Linked DNA regions of Homo sapiens: region 1 is linked to region 2. The links are contacts of gene promoters, found by promoter capture Hi-C in human tissues and cell types (Jung and others, 2019). All regions are on one chromosome and are shown on one strand. Each heading gives the region's core, a stretch centred on a gene start or on the middle of the fragment in contact. The rest is flanking DNA. Distances are from core to core; before and after follow the strand shown.

Region 1 (5,997 bases), core at 1,261-3,760, 130 kb before region 2:
CCATCTAGCTGACCTTTATTTTTTATTTTTATTTTTATTTTTATTTTTATTTTTATTTGTTTTGTATGCTAGCAATCTGTTAACCACATTTCCAGGGAACTTGCATAGAGAGCTCCTTCTCTCTCTCTCTCTCTCTCTCTGTCTCTCTCTCTCCCGCTTTCTATCCTACTCCCTTCCTCCTTCCCTGCCTTCTTCGCTCTCCTTTCTCTCTCTTCCTTTTTTTCTATTTCTTATTCGTTGGCAGTCTTGCCACTGGATGTGCAAATTAAAACTCATTTAATCATCTGCATGCCAAGCACAAGGACTCAGTCAATCACGTTCTATGCCATTGGCTAGGTAATTACTTGAAATTTGCTATCTATTGTTTCATCCTTTGTTCCCAGCCTACTATTGACGTCAGAGGAGTTTTGCCTGTGAAAGAATGAGGTCTTATTTTTGTGTGTGTGTATAAAATATTCTAGTTTGCTCCAGACTTCTGTGCCCAAGTGGGTCTCTGGCAAAGAATGTTCTGTACATCCATCAACATTTAGAAGTGCAGTGATGGTTGCATGCAAAGTGGAAGTTGGAAATTGAGCAGAAAGAAAAAACCTTGTGGAGCGTAGTCAAACCGGTTACTCAAAGCTTGTGTTTTAAGATTTTCTTCAGCCTCTTGCACACTCATACCAAACGATAATATCCACATTTGCAGATTGAGAAACCAACATCGAACTACTATCTTAATTGCAGGACTTTTCAGAGCCTTTAAAGAGAGATATAGTTATGTCTTTGTCCTTATGGGAATAACCGGACCTTTGCCAAACTGAGAAAAGTTCAGGCACAAGGTAGACAATGTAGTGGATAGTGAGTCAGATTCTGTACCAGGAAGATTTTGTATGGTGTGAGTTCCTCTCTGCACTGCCCACCTTGGTACTTCCAGCATCTAGGATAACTGTTGCCACACAATTAAGTATTTGTTAACTACTTGTTTAAGGAATAAGTAGGTGTTTTTCAAAGAGGCTGCTTCAACCATGAACACTTATTTATCTTTGGAGTCACATGTCATGGCTAAGTTATGCCCTAAGTACCATATAACTTAGTAGTTAATACTGTAGTTAATACTTAGTAGCTAATACTCTAACCTTGAGGTTAGAAAGCCTTGAGGGTTAAGCTCTGCCTTTGCCCTTTACCACTGGTGAGGCTTTGTGCAATTAACTGAGTCTATTTAAGCCTCCCTCTCCTTATCTCTACTTTGGCTCCGTTGTAGAGATGGGGAGACAATGATCTTCACTCCACAACAGGTTAGTTCATGTCCTTTGTAGGGACATGGATGAAGCTGGAAACCGTCATTCTCAGCAAACTATCGCAAGGACAAAAAACCAAACACCACATGTTCTCACTCATAGGTGGGAATTAAACAATGAGAACACATGGACACAGGAAGGGGAACATCACACACCGGGGCCTGTTGTGGGGTCGGGGGAGGGGGGAGTGATAGCATTTGGAGATATACCTAATGCTAAATGACGAGTTACTGGGTGCAGCACACCAACATGGCACATGTATACATATGTAACAAACCTGCACATTGTGCACATGTACCCTAAAACTTAAAGTATAATAAAAAAAATTCAGTTCAATCCTGATAATTTCTTTATCAAAATAATTTCCATGTGAATCACAGCTTTATATGTAATAGAATAAAATATTTAACAAACCACAAAAAAAATTGATTAAGACAAGGTACATAAAACACCTTTGCATAGTACTTGGCATATAATAAACTTTCAGTAAATATTATGATTAAAGACTGTGCATCAATTGGTTCAATGGATAACTCTCAAGTAGAGTAGTACATGATAGGATGTTAATAGTACAAATTCTATATAAACATTTATATATGCAGATACTGGGTCCAAAATAAAAGTGTGGCACTACAATTACGTTGTCATTGTCCCCCACCAAGAATACATAGAAACATCAGGGCAGAGTTGATACCAAATCTCATAGAAAGCCTTAAAAATAATTATTTCAAAATGTTGCCCTTGATCAATGGTTCTCAACTGCAAGCAAGTTTGCCCCCTGGGGGGACATTCATTAATGTCTGAAGACATTTTTGGTTGTCACCACTGGGGTGGGGGCTGTGCCTGTGGCTTCCAGTGGGTAGAGGCCAGAGATGCTGCTAAACAACCTGCAATGCACAGGACAGCCTCCTGCAACAGGGAATGATCAATTGTGTCAGAATTGAGAAAAACCTTGCTCGGGATTTTTTAATTTTAAAAATATGTAACTTATTTCAGATTCTATCAGAGCCAATACATATGAAGATACATTATTTATGAATTATTTTCAGTGTTTAAAAGGGGATTAAGGCAAGTGGCTCTTTTTGGTTGAGAACTGGGTTCATTTCAGGGAGCCTGGAATATGATACTTTTCTTGGAATGCATTTGCCAGGCTGAAGGATCAGGGCAGAGAATTGCAGTCTGATGAAAATGCTGCAAGCAAATATCCTGCTTAGAAATGTTTTTGATGAGTCATTTCCAAAAACTCAAATACACTGACTAGTGACTAAGAGTCTAATTAACCCAGACGCCACTAAAAATAGGAAAGATCCATTGCACTTACGCGAGGTTTTCTGTTAAATCAACAACCCTGTGAGGTAGGCAGAAGCAATTTAAAGTCTAGAGAATACTAATACTAATAATGAGGGCTATTAATTATTAAGCATGGACACTGTGCAAAATAATGGCAGTAGAACAAGAGGAGGAGGAACTTAGGGTATGGAGTGCACGCCTAGCCCTGTCACCTACTAGCTGCATGAGTCTTGGAGGTTTATTTTGCTTTTCTGCATCTTAAGTCTTAATCTGTGAAAGAGGAATAGTTACAGTGTCAGTTTCACGGGATTGTTGTGAAAATTAAAAAAAAAAGCTTCCAAAGCACTCAGCACAGTGACCAATGCATATGCTTCTAATAAATGTAAGTTAATAATGAGAAGAATTCTCACAAAAACCGTACAAGGAAAGTATTCATAGTTAAAGATGAGACCATTTAGAGATGAACAAACTGTGTCAAAAAGTCCTTCAGTAAGTTGCCTAAGTTCCCTCAAGTGGTGAGTAGCCAAATCAGGTTGAACACAGAACTCACTTGGCAAGCCTTGTGCCTAGAAGAGTTTCTGGCATGTATCAGAACAACAACTATCTGTTGCAGAGGCAAAGGAAAAACCCTCATAGGTTCTGTGGCTGGGACCCTAGAAATTAAACATTAAAAGACACGTTAACAGGAAAAAGGATTTATTTCATATGCATATGAAGGGCCTCATAGAAATTAAAACCCAAAGAAGTAGGCAGACCTGGAGGTGTATATACCAGTTTAACAAAAGGGCCAAAAAAATTGTGGAGAAATGACAAGACAAAGAAAATAAATTTGAGTTTCTAGTGGTGATAAATTGTGGAAAGGTAAACATATGAGGAAAATAATGGAAGACTGGGTTATTTTAGGAAGGTTTGTTATGCAGACTCCCCTGGAGGCTGATAGTCTAGAGTTTCCTCTGGTGATTAAACACTTGCTGTGCCCTTTCTGGTAGGAGAAAGAGGAAGTGGCAACATTTTCACAAAGGGAAATCTATGCCCTGATTTTAGGCCAATGGGGGAGGGTAGAGTGCTTGTTTCTTGCATCTGTTGTTTCTCAATTGCTTTCTGCTTGAAATAGTCCTTACGCCAATGTGGCATATTTTGGGGTGACATATTCTAACCCCTTCACTACTGAATGAAGAAAAATCTCCTAATATTATATCTTCAGTAATCCACATTTTCAGCTGATTTTGCCCTGTTTATTGCACTTCCATTCTTGCTGGCTTCACATTTATTTTGTTTCTGGTCATGGAGTCAACTTTGGGTGCTCAAGTTTCCAGTGGGTGCATTAAAATACTCAAATAGCATAAATTGCACATATAACTTTGAAAAATTGCCCACAGAAAAATAGCAAAACGTGTTCATCTTTTCACCAAGAGCTAACTCTTGCAGAAGACAGGTAATCATTAGAAACCCTTCTACCCTAATCGCGTTGCCTGTATGTAATTATTGTAGTTTCCTCTGAGTATTCACTGAAAGGTGCCTTGAGAGAGAAAAAAATGTATAGGCTGCCTAGCAAAGTTAGGAAAAGCATGTAGAATGTATATATGGTGTGTGTGTGTGCATGTGCGTGCTTTGGTCACAGATATGAAGCAAGTTTCATCATGTAATTACAATGACAAATACAATGGCATTTGAATCAATTGACATCAGAATTGTAGGAATGGCTTGGAGTTGAGCTCCTCCTAATTATATTTAATTGCATAGTCTTGGATTTGACACTGAGTCTGGCTTGAAATGGATGCTTCGATGGGTTGAGTGTTTTTTCGCAGCTTGACAGGGTTGAGATGTAAACAGGAGCTGATAAACATGGCACTTACCACACCCATGAAGACTTTCTATTGGAATTTCTGTGAATGATTAATAGTCAAAAATTACAGCTCCACTGAGCTGTGACAGCATTGGATTCAGGATATGGAGACCTTTGTTTCCGTTATTGCTTACACATTTTAGAATCATTTGATTTTATTCTGGTTTATTTTTTGGCTCACTCCTCTGCTGATGAGTAAATTGAGGGAAATAAACACCAGAATGAGTCTGGCTGTTAAATGTGTCAATGTCTTAGCCATGGCAAGAATTCTACTGCATTCTCTGATGCAGTTGCCTGAGGCTGAGTACAGCTTGGGCCCCTTACCAACAACTGTTCTTCTATCGCCAGACTGGAGTGCAGTGGCGTGATCTCGGCTCACTGCAACCTCCGCCTCCTAGGTTCAAGCAATTCTCCTGCCTCAGCCTTCCAAGTAGCTGGGACTCCAGGTGCGTGCCACCACGCCCAGCAAGTTTTTTGTATTTTTAGTAGAAACAGGGTTTTACCATGTTGGCCAGGATGGTCTCGATCTCTTGACCTCGTGATCCGCCCGCCTTGGCCTCCCAAAGTGCTGGGATTATAGGCGTGAGCCACCACGCCCGGCCAACAACTGTTCTTTAAATGTTCTACTATCAAGAATGTTTTTCATATTTAATTTTTAAAATATTTCTGATATCTCTGATATTGGTCCTTAATATTCTATAAACATTTAACTATCTACCTTTTGAACTAATAATTCCTTTTATAATCTATTCTACACATTTTGCCCAAATATTGTAGGATAAATGTTAAGGATGTACATTTCACCATTATTTGTAACTCATTTATTCATCTACACATATTTTTTGAGTGCTTATATATTCAAGGCCTTGAGGAATTAGCTATAAGTGAACATTTAAATTTGTTTTTCTTTCTCTCATGAGGCTTATATTCTTGTTGAGAAAGATAGACAATAAACAGGATAAAGAATTAAAATAGGCCAGGTGTGGTGACTCATGCCTGTAATCCCAACACTTTGGGAGGCTGAGGCGGGAGGATTGCTTGAGCCCAGGAGTTCAAGACCAGCCCAGACAACATAGTGGGACCCTATCTCTACAAAAAAATTTAAAAATTAGCTGGGCATGACGGTGCATGCCTGTGGTCCCAGCAACTCAGGAGGCTTCAGTGGGAGGATTGCTTGAATCCAGAAGGTCAAGGCTGCCCTGAGCAGTGTTCATGCCATTGCCCTCCATCCTGGGTGACAGAGTGAGACCTTGTCTCAAAAGAAAGAAAGTTAAAATAGGTAATATTAAATTGTTAGAAGGCAATGAATATTTTCAGAGAGTATATAGCAAATTTAAATATAGTTGTCAGGAAAGGCCTTCTTGGAAATTGACCTTTGAGTAAAGACCAGAAGGAGGTAAGAGAGGGAGTTGTGGATATCTGAGAAGCGTGTGATCTAGGAAGAGTTAACAGTAAGGTCAAAGACCCTGAGGTAGGATAGTTCCTGGCAAGTTGAAGAAAAAGCAGGAAGGCCTGTGTGGCTGGAACACAGTAAACTAGGGAAAATCAAGGAATCAGGTGAGGTCAGAGAAGTGCCAAGTA
Region 2 (5,565 bases), core at 1,730-4,229:
GATCTGGTTTGCTTCTCTTTATGTCTTGGTTCTGCTCCTTTAGCGTGGCCTTCACTCTTCGATAAGCCCTCCCCTGGGGTTTCACCATTTGTGCCAGCAGCTCCTGGGCCTCTTCCATCCAGATTCCATTTCAGCTGGAGTGTGAGTCTTCCTCCCAGTATTCAGTAAAAGTAACCCAATTCATTATTAATTGGCCAGCTTAGGTCATGTGCCCATATCTGAACCAATCACCAACCACTAGTTGTCCAAAGAAAGGCCATGGACAGGGCTGCACACGTGAGCTGGAAACAGGGGTGAGTACACTCAGTGAAAATGGTGACTACTATGGGAAGAACAAACTCTGGATGCTGAGGAAACAAACAGAAATGCATACTACAAATAAGAAGCTCTAAATATTCAAAAATTGAGTTCAAAACACGGAACGAAATAGTATTTTTTCTTGTCAGACATTTCCAGTAAAACTAAATCATGTGTGATAGTATATTTGTTCGGCAGCATATGGTTAGGCAAGTTGTGCACTGTAGAACTCTATAAGCACCCCTTACATTGCCTACCTCTGTGAATGGTTCTTTTCCATTTCTTTTTCTTTTTTTAATGTTTTTTTTTTTTTTTTTTTTTTTTGAGACAGAGTTTCGATCTTGTTGCCCAGGCTGAAGTGCAATGGTGCAATCTTGGCTCACCTCCACCTCCCAGGTTCAAGTGATTCTCCTGCTTCAGCCTTCCAGGTAGCTGGGATTACAGGCACGCACCACCACACATAGCTAATTTTGTATTTTTGGTAGAAACGGGGTTTCTCCATGTTGGTCAGGCTGGTCTCGAACTCCCAACCTCAGGTGATCCACCCACCTCGGCCTCCCAAAAAATTACAGGGATTACAGGCGTAAGCCACTGTGCCCAGTCTCTTTGCTCTTGCTGCCAGGGCTTGTATTGCACAATTTGGACAAGTGTAAATGTCCTATGAATAGTATATCACAGTCTGTACGTTTTGCATGTATGTCAATTGGATTTCACCAAACAAAACCATATATTGGATTCAGTCTTGCAATTTAAAAAAGAAATCATTTGTTCCTTCACGTCTAGTTTGATATTTTCTGGTTTGATTCTAGTTTCCTCAGCTCCAGTTAAATTATCTATGGATGTTGATTATAGTCAGCATTAACTATCAAGGGATGGATTTCTCGCCTTCAGTTTTTGTCAGTAATTATTTCCGTTATTGTGGGCCCTTCATTTCAAGCTCCTTATGCCTTAATTTCTTCATTTTTTGTTTCTATAATACTGTGGACTTGGTCTATAAATGATGTGTTAGATAAATGCCTTCCATGAACACCTCTATTTTACAGCAACCATGGGCAGCATTTTTTTTTTTAAGTTCCAATCCTTCAAAAGGAGCTCTCCAAATGATTTTACCATTTCATCTCTTTTGGTGAGAGATTTAAAATTAAAACATCATTTTCCATAGAATGGCAACATGAAGACAGATGGTTTACTATGTAGCAAAAATAGTTCTCCCTGCCAGAATATCTCCTTTTTGATTGTCCCCATTTAGTCTCGGTTCTCCTATGACACATTCTTGGAGGTTTCTGTTCTTTAACTGAAACTCATCAAGCCAAGGTGACTAAAAGCTAATGTTCCCAGTGAGAATGGGAAGATTCATATCGTCTTAGAGTTGAAAGACCTGTGGATGTCATCAGGTCAAACAATCCACTACTAACTGAATCCTCTTCTCAATGGCTCTGAGCAGTGATCTCTAGCTTTAGCTTTGTCGCTTCCCAGTGAGTAAGAATTTTTGTCTAATTTCTGATGATTATCTTTGCCTTTGTGAATAGTGCAAATGATTAGAAAGATCTTCCTTGGAAATCAACTAGTAACCTCTCTTTCTGTGAGATCCTCTCTTCAGAAGAGGAATAGGAGAATGTTTAGGAGCAGAGCTGGGCACTACACACACCTCCCTTCAATCCTAGCTCTGATAGTGGCCAGCTGTGAGACCTTAGCAAGTCTGTAAAATGTGGATGCTGGTGCCTAATTCATTATTCCCTTAACAAGATTAGCACAATGCCCAGCACACTGGTGCTCAATGTGTGTTAGCAATTATCAATCAAGTATGCTTTAGGGAGGTAATGCAGTCAGGGGCAGGTGAGTGTGAAATTCAGTCCCCTTCTTCATCTTATTGTATAGGCAGTATCTCATAATGGCAATGAGAGCTCTATTGCCAGGCTAAGGAGGCTTAATTAAATATGGGCCTGGTGTATACATTAACAGGGCACCTACCTCAAAAAGTGCAGGGGAGTTTGAATGAGTCAATCCATGCAAAAGGCTTGGAGAGTGCCTGGCACCTAGGTGGCCATCTTGATAACCACAAGGATTTACTGAGCACTTGCTCTGGGGTCAGGCTTTGGGGACAGACAGTGATGAGGCCAAGTCTCAGCCCCCTGGGAAACACATTCCGGCGGGAAAGAGGCTGAAACAGGGAAACTGTGGCAAATGATACCAGCGAGGGCTAGGTCCCTGACACAAGGAAACCCAAGGAAGCATTTGGCTTAAGCGGTGACAATATCCCTCTCCTCAGATGCCAAGGTCAAGGCGAGCCGCGGCAACACCATCTCCCCAGACACACACGCAAAATCGGCCCTTCTCGGGGAAAGGGCAGGGGCTGAAGGGGGAGGCGGGGTGGGCGGCGGCTGGAAAAAAGTGAAATTTCCTCTCCTCCTAAAATAAGTCATTGGAGCGAGGAGAGCGAGCGCTATCTCAGTAGGCTGTGGGCGAGGTGCGGGGGTGGCGGGGGCACGCTCCGGGTCCGCCAGGAGGGGAGGGATCGGAAGGGGAAGCGGGGAGGGAAAGGTGGGTGGGAGGCGCGGGGAGCGTTCCAGGGCGGCTGCTCACGGGTGGCCGCAGCCCAGTGCTGGGACTCGCGCGGCTCCTCCTCTTAGCCCCCCACCCCTTCCTCCTCTTTCCTCCTCCTCCTTCCTCCTCCTCCTCCTCCTTCTTCTCCTCCTTCTCGGCCGGGAGGAGGCAGGGCTGGATCCCTCAGCCGCCGCCGCTCCTCCTCCTGGCAGGCCGGCCGCGGAGTCAGCTGACGCCGGCGCTCCAGCCTCGCCTCCCCGCGCCGCGCTCTGCGCTCCCCGAAAGTGGCTGCAAGCCGGCCGCCCACTGTCAGGGTTGGGGGGACAGAGAAAGTGATGTGCGCCTTCTAAAGCCTCGCCCAGCGCCGCCGAAGCAGCTTCACCTCTCCAACTTTCTCCCACCGACTGCTTGTCTTGACCCTGCCCTCCACCCTCCCCAGAGCCACTTCGGGTGCGCGCTCTTGGGTAAAGGGGGGGTCACCGGCTGTCTGGGATGGCTTCCAATTTTAATGACATAGTGAAGCAAGGGTACGTGAGGATCCGGAGCAGACGCCTCGGGGTGAGTATCGATCCTCTCCGTGTTGCTGTTCGCCGGTTCGATTGTCTCTCTCTTGAGCCAGCATCCCTGGAGGGTGGACGGAGAGTCCCCGGCCGCGCGCCGGAGAATTGCGCGGTGGCTTTCTCAGCCGAAACCCGCGTCTCCGGGGCTGTCACTGTAAGGCCAGCGTCTAGGTATGTAATGGATCTATCTTTATCTCTTGGATGACTTGGCTTTCTGATGGTGGCCGCGTGTTGGGCTTCAGTAGCCCCTGGAGCCCATCTACTCGAAATAAATATTTCTCGGTAGCCATGGAAGTTGGAGCTGAGAAGCCCGGGCGGGGGTGCCTGCCGGATGCCCCCGGTTCCCCTCTTTTCCCACTCGCCGCCAACTTAACTTTTCCGGGGGATGGATCGGCTGGTTGAGAAAGAGGACACGCATACTCGGTGTGAACGAGGTCACGAACCCTCTGACCCCAGGGAGAGATTTCTGCCAAGCGTAAGGTGTCTTTGGATCCCCCCACCTCTGTCCCAGGTGTCGTGTCAAAGGCGGTGCGGGCTGGCCTCTGGTCGGGGCCAACTTGGGTAGATACTTGAATCTGGATTTTCCGTGGTTCGAAGCCGGGGTGGTGGATTTCTGTTGCTGGAATACACCCTGGAGGTCCACGGAAGGGTTATTTACGTGGAACCTGATACCTGGCATAGCGCAAGTGCTCCCTACATATGTCCTGAAAGGAAGAATGAATGAATCTTAGGGCACTTGGGACAGATGTTGACACAGGCTAGCTCCTTCCTTAAAACTCCCTCTCTTTCGCCCCTTTCTCTCTTGGCTCTTCGCTGGAGGAGGCTTCAAAAGAGAACCTACCCTTCCTCTCCTTGGGACTGAATGATGGTGGAAGAATTCTTGAGGGAGAGGGAAGATACTGGAACGATTTTTTTATTTCCTAAAAATTTCAAACTAGGTCCCTCATTTCTCTTTGCCTCCTATCAAGTGTTGTCGCTGTTTTAGTTGATCCTGTGCGTTTGGACATAAGGGGTGAAAAGTGGGGGTGGAGAGGTGGCGGGGGCGGGGGGAGAAAATATCCTTTGGTGTAATGCCTGAAATAAGTATAATGTCAGTAATCGTGTGGAATGCCGCCATTGATAATGAGTGGTAAATTGAATAGCTTTCTTTAGAAATATGTGTCATTTGGCATCTTTCTCTTACTTGGTCTTTGGACTGTTTTAATGTGCCAGATACTTTTACTGAAAACTGAAAAGAAATTTCACAGTAGTAAACTCAGCTAGGGAGGGAAGCCCTGTGGGGAGGAACATCCGCAATTATTATAAAACTCTTGCCTAATTCGTTTTGGTCTTTTTCTTTTCTTTTTCTCCCCTGCTGGTGACCATGTTTTAGCGATTATGTCCTGTGTTATTGTGAATATATACATATGTAATTAGGGAGAAATGTAACAGAATTCACCATTTCCATCAGCTCTGCCAAAGTTTCCTTGGTTTTCTTTTCTGCTATGCAAATATTCTCATCTTCAAGAGCACCCATTGTTGGGGGTACTTTACTGAGTGACTCCCATGTAAGGGGCAAACAATAATGGGAACTTTCTATTTTTGGTATGCTTATAGGCTGGCCAAGTGTTACAATTTTAAGGGGAGTTAAGTTAAAAAAAAAAAAAACCCAGCATTCTAATTTAGCTTTACTCCATCATGTCAATGGAAGGAATTGGTATGAGACATCCATTCTGTGTTAGGGAGCATTCCAATGGGAAGAGGACATGCATTATTAATGCACAAAATATGAATTATTCATAAGGATCAGAGTTTATGCCAAATTGTGACACATGGTAATTTATTTGAAAAACTGGTTACCATCACTTTCTTGTTTGTGGTAACTGAGATTATTTTTTCTAGATTATTACAATTGACACAACATAGCCCTATGTGTGTGCCAACATTTATGGACAGATATTTGAAGCAGAAGGAACAGAAATATTTAGTTTGTATTTGTTTTATGTTTTACAGCATTTTGGATGCTAATGAGCAGTATACTTTCTCAAGATTTATTCTTTTTGTCTGTGTTCACGTTCAGACTTCAGAATATCTATTGAATTATGGTTATTGCTCATGGAGAGAAAAGGTCAAAAATATGATCAAGTAAATCTGGTCTTATTTGTTAGCATTGGTTTTCTCACCA

Evidence for each region. The method cuts DNA at HindIII sites, captures the fragments that hold promoters and counts their contacts. A contact is called where the count stands out against the background at its distance.
Region 1: a contact is called between a fragment that was not itself captured here and the fragment with the promoter of DOK5 in region 2, in 1 of the 25 tissues and cell types used here (aorta).

What each region holds. Positions count from the first base shown.
Region 1 is chr20:54,342,916-54,348,912 of GRCh38, forward strand. No RefSeq gene overlaps it. Among named protein-coding and RNA genes, the nearest start is that of DOK5, 130 kb to the right of the region's middle. The HindIII fragment of the contact is 7,053 bases long and covers 1-5,997 here.
Region 2 is chr20:54,472,614-54,478,178 of GRCh38, forward strand. It overlaps DOK5 (docking protein 5), which reads left to right and starts at 2,980. Exons shown (of 8, transcript NM_018431.5): 1 at 2,980-3,399. The coding sequence starts at 3,334. The HindIII fragment of the contact is 11,986 bases long and covers 1-5,565 here.